Regions from separate parts of the Homo sapiens genome. Here region 2 is linked to region 1. The links are contacts of gene promoters, found by promoter capture Hi-C in blood cells and fetal thymus (Javierre and others, 2016). All regions are on one chromosome and are shown on one strand. Each heading gives the region's core, a stretch centred on a gene start or on the middle of the fragment in contact. The rest is flanking DNA. Distances are from core to core; before and after follow the strand shown.

Region 1 (3,607 bases), core at 424-2,923:
TCCAAAATTTATTGGTCAAGTTCTAATTACATAATCTTCATAATAATAAAGATATATTTAAATAAGTATGTAAATATGAAATCCCTCGGTGAATTTTTAGGGCAAAGAGTAAATGAAATTGCAGGTAAAACAAACTACATTAAATAGGAATAAAAATAAAAACAGCCGGGCGCTGTGGCTCACGCCTGTAATCCCAGCACTTTGGGAGGCCGAGGCAGGGGGATCATCTGAAGTCGGGAGTTCGAGACCCGCCTGACCAACATGGAGAAACCCTGTTTCTACTAAAAATACAAAATTAGCCGGGCCTGTTTTTGGTGGGTTTTTTTGTTTGTTTTTTTTTTTTAGAGAATTAAAATGGCATTTTAAGAGAAAAAGCAAATAGTAACCAAATGTTAAATATTTCACCTCAAGAACTATTTGGAGAATTAAATTTCCATGTATTATTTACTGGGATCTCTTTAATAATACCCTTCTGCTCTGACATCTTTCCCATACATAATATAAAACCATCCTTTAACCCTATTTTACAGCTGGAAAAAAAAACCCGAAGCTCAAAGAGGTTAAGATTTATTGCTGGAACTAAATTCAGGTGTATTCGCTCTGACTGCAAGCCCAACTTCCCACTACAGTACTGCTCATAACAAGGTTTAACATGATTATGTGGATCTTCAATATTCTTCATAAATTAGGTGGCTCTGGATAGTTTATTAACACGTCAAAGGATTGATACAGAGTTAAGCTGAATGATATATACCAGAAGGAAAATTGTTTCCAATTCAGTGATATGCCATAAACGTGAGGAGTACAGGTTTCAACAAGATGGGTGGATACTCGTTTCGGGGAGCAACAAACAAGTTTTTCAATTTTGGTTTGGCCAGTTTCAAGTAAGAAAAAGGCCAGAATAGGCTAGTGCACAGTACACCTAGCTGGATTAACTGAATAGGCTCACTTCATGAACTTCACTCCTAAACTGGGAGGACAGGAGAGGGGAGAAAATCAAAGTGCCTCAGCCCTCTCCAGTGGAAACTATAAAAAGCCCTTGTGGAACAACCCACCGACTCACAAATCTGGAAAGGTGAGGCCTGAATGAAAATTAGGACTGGAAACTGGGGTGAAGCACTGAGTCTAACAGGACCAGGCATGCTCACAGTGCCTTCTCCTGACGTCACCTGAAGCTTACCTCTTTGACAGGTGGGAATTTCTTCTTGCACTCCAGTGACAAGGCGCGCAAGTCGCTCTGCATATTCTCCAGCAGCTTCTTCACCGCCTCGGGGCTGCTGGTGCCGGACATGATCCTCCAAGGTCCCAGCCAATTTCCGAGAGGTACAAACAAGCTCTGGCACGGTCAGCTCCTTAGGGCCACAGGCAGCTCCCTCCCGGTGTCTCTGGTCCTTCAGCAGCCCGCTTCTTGGGCCCTGGGCTGCGAACCCGGAGCCTGCTCGAGCGTCCCCCAGCAGCTTCCCCGCAACACCTCTGGCTTTTCTCGGAGGCGCCCCCCGCAGTCGCACCGTCCCGCTAGGCTCCGCCGACTCTGGCCGAGAAACCCACAAGGCGGGCAGGTCCCTCCGCTGCCGCGGGGCCCAGCCACACCGGGTGTCACCAGCCAACCTGGCAAGAAGCTTCAGCGCCAGCTCCCCAGGCCCCTAAGACTCGCCGACGCCATTAGCCGAGTCGCCCACAATTCCGAGCGCTGCCGGGACACGTCAGCCGCACTTCCGGGTACCGTGGCCTCCGCCACCGCCGCGGCCAACCCCGGCGGCAGGCCGTCGGCGGGGCGGGGCTGGGGCTTGGCCATGCTCGGGGCAGGCGGGATTCCGGGTGGGCAGCGATTCCCACAGCCCCACCCCCGGAATCAAGTAGGCTAGACAGGGTTTAAGGCGTCAAGATTCGCTTCGTTTTCATTAACAAGTGCCTGAACAGAGCCCCCGAGTACTCCTTGGCATATCTCTTTGCGTATGTTTGTGTTAAATTGTATTTCGGTGTAAATAATTTGTTTCCCTGTAGATTAATCTTAACGTGTCTCCTCCCGCTTCATTTCGAATCTCTGGACTAGTGGCCCCAAATCAGTGGCTACCTCCTGTTAATATACATTTTTTTTCTTTAAACGCAACTGGTGCACTTACTGTGGGGTAGCCTCTTATTTTCCTAATCTCTAAAATGAGACTACCCTCTGCTCCACGCATTCCGCTGGCCTCCCATCTCACTCAAAGTAAAAGCCAAAATTCCTCCAATCACCTACCAGGCGCTACGAGATCTGTCCCGGCCCCTTTACTGGCAGATGCTCCCAGCTAAAAGGAGAGTTTCGCGAGTTGGGCTGCCGGTTCTTCCTCTTTTTAAATCTTATTTTGTTTCCTGTGTATCTCCAGCACCTAGAACAGTGTCTGGCATATAGCAGGTAATCAGTACATACTTGTTGAATGAATACCCTTCTATTATAAAATCAGAGTTTCGAGGCTCAAATAAGGCACAGATACATAAAAGCCTTCATCAGGTCTGAAGTGCCAAATAAATATGAGGCAAAAGCCAAACAGAAAAATCTTCATCTGTATTTCCCCAAGATCCAGGTTGGTCTACTTTTTCCCCAAGACATTTTGCAGCTGCTGGTCAGAAAGCAGAAAATGAGGGAGGAAAAACCAGAAACAGTAGAGATGAAGAAACCAACACCTTCAGACAGCTGAGCTTATGACATGATGGAAGACAGTGAGCCATGAGATTGTCAGTGGATAGCGCTGTTTGGCTGTAACAGAGCTACTTTGTAAGCTAAATAATTTTATTTTATTTTTCCTTCTGATAAGAAGCAAAGCAAGGATGGATAAAGGGGACAGATGAGGTAATAGTAGAGAGCTCCTAGGGCAGTAATTTTGATCATTTGTGCCTATTACACAACTTCTGGGAAACTTGACACCTCCTATGGTATAAGCTTTATGTATGAAAACTGGTGAATTTAGCAAAAAAGTTCAAATGGAATATATGGCAGACATTATTCTTGAGGTCTCAGGGAGCTTGTAAAAACGAGGCGCTTTTTTTGGGTGGGGGGTGGAGACGGAGTCTCACTCTGTCACTCAGGCTGGAGTGCAGTGGCGCGATCTCCACTCACTGCAACCTCCACCTCCCAGGGTCAAGCAATTCTCCTGTCTCAGCCTCCCGAGTAGCTGGGACTACAGGCGTAGGCTGCCACGCCCGGCTAATTTTTTGTATTTTAGTAGAGATGGGGTTTCACTGTGTTGCCCAGGCTGGTCTCCAACTACTGAGCTCAGGCAATCCACCTGCCTTGGCCTCCCAAAGTGCTAGGATTACAAAGGCGTGAGCCACACCGCAGGCCTTTTTGTTTGTTTGTTTGTTGTTCTTTTTAGTAGAGATGGGGTTTCAGCATGTTGGCCAGGCTGATCTGGAACTCCAGAGTACAAGTGATCCACCCACCTCGACCTCCCGAAGTGCTGGGATTACAGGCATGAGCCACCACACCTGGCCAAAAATGATGCTTTAGTAATTGGGCTAGTGATATAGGATCAAATTCTCTGACTTTCACTATGTAGCCAACTTTTCTTTTGGATTTTTTACTATTGGTAACTTTGGCATGATTAACTCAAAATCGTTAGAATCTTTT
Region 2 (3,786 bases), core at 600-3,099, 1.3 Mb before region 1:
AGCCTGATGAGCCCTGCAACACTGATGATATCCTTTCTACTTCTGTCTTAGAATTGTCTCGAGGCTACAATTAAATGATATAAGCTCGTTTGTTTATTTAAACAAAGTATATTTACACTTATTTTCAACAAGTATCTTAACAGTACTTACAAATTCTTCCAATATCTTCAAGGTGAGCCGTTACTTCTGATTCACTTTTGGTCAAACAAGGATGGTGAATGTGTGGAAACACTTAAGTTAGTACCCATGTAGTTGTTTCAACTGAAGACTTACAATTGCATAAAAGTTTATTAATTTTGGATAAATTATGTACGCTACTTTTCATGAACCTAACACTTTAATAAGCTGTTTAAAAAAAATCTCATACAATGGTGACCTTTCTTGAATATAGTTCTCTTAAATCCTAAGAGGAAACGGTATTACTCTTTGGCCATAATACCAGCACACCTCATTTTATTGTGCTTCACTTTATTGTACTTTGCAAATAAAGAGTTTTTTACAAATTGAAAGTTTGTGGTGATCCCCAGTCAAGCAATTCTATTGGTACCATTTTCCAACAGCATGTGCTCACTATGAGATGGTGATATGGTTTGGCTGTGTCCCCACCCAAATCTCATCTTGAACTGTAGCTCCCACAATTCCCACATGTTGTGGGAGGTGCCCGGTGGGAAGTAATTGAATCATGGGGGCAGGTCTTTCTTGTACTGTTCTCATGATAGTGAATAAGTCTCACAAGATCTGATGGCAAACTTAATAGATAAATGCTATGTGTGTGGTCTAACTGCTCCACCAACCAGTATTCCCCCATTTCTCCCCATCTCCTTGGGCCTCCCTATTCCCTGAGACACAACACTATTAGGCCAATTATTAACCCTATAATGCCCTCTAAGTGTTCCCTATAATTAATAACCCTATAATGAATGCCCTCTAGGTGAAAGGAAGAGTCGCAAGTCTCTCACTTTCAGGAGTGTCCAAGGGAGAGAATATAGGCATGGATTCTTAGTTTCTGTTTCTGGTTGGGCCAGTAAAACCCCTTCCTTATCCCTCTTTTCTGCTTATTACTAAAGACAGAAACTAAAAGCCATGGCTTCAGGCTGCTAAAAGCCTAAGACAAAACAAAACAGAACAACAACAATAAAATAAGGTGGGTTGGAGAAGCTTGCAACCAAAAGCTAGAAATAGTTAAGCTTAGTGAGGAAGGCATGTCAAAAGCTGAGGCAAGCTAAAAGCTAGGCCTCTTATGCCAAACAGTCAAGGTGGGAATGCAAAGGAAAAGTTCTTGAAGGAAATGAAAAGTGCTACTCCAGTGAACAACATGAATGATGTGAAGGTGAAATAGTCTTATTGCTCATATGGAGAAAGGTTTAATAGTCTGGATAGAGGATCAAACCAGCCACAACATTCCCTTAAGCCAAAGCCTAATCCAGAGCAAGGCCTCCACTCTTTTCAATTCTATGAAGGTTGAGAAAGGTGAGGAAGCTGCAGGAGAAAAGTCTGACGTTGCCAGAGGTTGATTCATGAGGTTTAAGGAAAGAAGCCATCTCCATAACATAAAAATGCAAGGTGAAGCAGCAAGTACTAATGTAGAAGCTGCATCAAGTTATCCAGAAGATTTAGCTAAGATCATTGATGAAGGTGGCTACACTAGACAACAGATTTTCAATGCAGATGAAACAGCTTTATATCAGCAGAAGATGACATCTAGGACTTTCATAGCTAGAGAGAAGTCAATGCCTGGCTTCAAAGCTTCAAAGGACAGGCTGATTCTCTTATCAGGGACTAAATGTAGCTGGGTGACTTTAAGTTGAAGCCAATGCTCATTTATCATTCTGAAAATCCTAGGACCTTTAAAACTATCCTAAATCTACTCTGCCTGTGCCCTATAAATGGAAAAAAGCCTAGATGACAGCAACATCTGTTCACAGCATGGTTTACTGAATATTTTAAGCTTACTATTGAGAAGTACTGCTCAGAAAAAAGGATTCCTTTCAAAATATTACTGCTCATTGACAATGCACCTGGTCACCCAAGAGATCTGATGGAGATGTACAGGAGATTCATGTCCTCATACCTGCTAACAAAATATCTATTCTGCAGCCCATGGATCAAGGAGTAATTTTGACTTTCAAGTCTTATTTAAGAAATACTTTTTGGCCAGACACGATGGCTCACGCCCGTAATCCTAGCACTTTGGGAGGCTGAAGCGGGTGGATCACTTGGGGACAGGAGTCCGAGACAGGAGACCTGGCCAACATGGTGAAACCCCATCTCCACTAAAAATACAAAAATTAGCTGGGTGTGGTGGCGTATGCCCATAGTCCCAGCTACTTGGGATGTTGAAGCACGAGAATCACTTGAACCCAGGGGCGCAAGTTGCAGGAAGCTGAGATTACGCTACTGCCCTCCAGCCTGGATGACAGAACAAGACTCTGTCTCAAAAAAAAAACAACAAACAACAACAACAAAAGAAATACTTTTCATAAGGCTATAGCTGCCACAGACAGTGGTTCCTCTGATGGATCTGGGCAAAGTAAATGAAAACCTTCTGGAGATGATTCATTATTCTAGATACCATGAACATTCATGATTCATGGGACGAGGTCAAAACATCAACATTAAAAGGAATTTGGAAGAAGCTGATTTAAACCCTCATGGATGACTTTGAGGGGTTCGAGATTTAAGTGGAGGAAGTCACTGAAGATGTGGTAGAAATGGAAAGAAAAGTAGAATTAGAAGTGGAACCTGAAGGTGTGACTGAATTGCTTCAATCTCATGATAAAACTTCAACAGATGAGGAGTTGCTTTTTATGAATGAGCAGAGAAAGTGGTTTCCTGAGATGGAATCTACTTCTGGTGAAGATACAATGTTGTGAACATTGGTGAAGTGACAATAAAGGATTCAGAATATTCCAAAAATGTAGTTGATAAAGCAGCAGTAGGGTTTGAGAGGACTGGCTCCAATTTTTTTTTTTCTTTGACTCATTCTGTCGCCCGGGGTTGGAGGGCAGTGGCATGATCTTACCTCACTGCATCCTCTGACTCCCAGGTTCAAGGATTCTTTTGCCTCAGCCTCCCAAGTAGCTGGGATTACAGGTGTGTGCTGCCACTTGCAGCCAATTTTTGTATCTTTAGTAGAGACGGGGTTTCACGATGATAGCCAGGTTGGTCTCGAACTCCTGACCTCAAGTGATCCAGCTACCTCAGCCTCCCAAAGTACTGGGATTACAGGCATGAGCCACTGCATCCGGCCTAGGATTGACTCCAATTTTGAAAGAAGTTCTATGGGTAAAAATGCCACCAAATAGCATCATGTGCTACAGAGAAAACTTTTGTGAAGGAAGAGTCAACTGATGTGGCAAACTTCATTGTTGTCTTATTTTAAGAAATTGTCACAGCCACCCCAGCCTTCAGCAACCACCACCCTGATTAGTCATCAATACACTGATTAGACATCAACATCGAGGCAAGACCCTCCACCAGCAAAAAGATGACTTGCTGATGGGTCAGATAACTGTTAGCATTTTTTAGCAATAAAGTATTTTTCACTTAAGGTACGTATTTTTTTTTTTTAGGCATAATACTATTACACACTTAATAGACTGTAGTACAGTGTAAACATAACTTTCATATGTACTGGATAATAAAAAAATTCATATGACTTGCTTTATTGCAGTATTTGCTTGACTGCAGTGGTGTGGAACTGAACACGCAGTATCTCTAGAGGATGCCTGTAAAATCTCCCACAAATATTTCAGAAGTAAAGGATACATTTGGCTTTCTTTTGGG

Evidence for each region. Contacts are between HindIII fragments. The CHiCAGO score rates a contact against its expected background, and 5 or more counts as called.
Region 2: a fragment that was not itself captured here is called in contact with the fragment with the promoter of MON2 in region 1 in 1 of 17 cell types (total CD8 T cells); the score reaches 5.7 in total CD8 T cells.

What each region holds. Positions count from the first base shown.
Region 1 is chr12:62,464,892-62,468,498 of GRCh38, reverse strand. It overlaps MON2 (MON2 regulator of endosome-to-Golgi trafficking), which reads right to left and starts at 1,673. Exons shown (of 35, transcript NM_015026.3): 1 at 1,181-1,673. The coding sequence starts at 1,291. RefSeq lists enhancers at 1,017-1,516, 1,512-1,621 and a silencer at 1,652-1,971. The HindIII fragment of the contact is 1,301 bases long and covers 1,622-2,922 here.
Region 2 is chr12:63,786,296-63,790,081 of GRCh38, reverse strand. All of the region lies in intron 3 of RXYLT1 (ribitol xylosyltransferase 1), which reads right to left. Among named protein-coding and RNA genes, the nearest start is that of RXYLT1, 8.3 kb to the right of the region's middle. The HindIII fragment of the contact is 202 bases long and covers 1,749-1,950 here.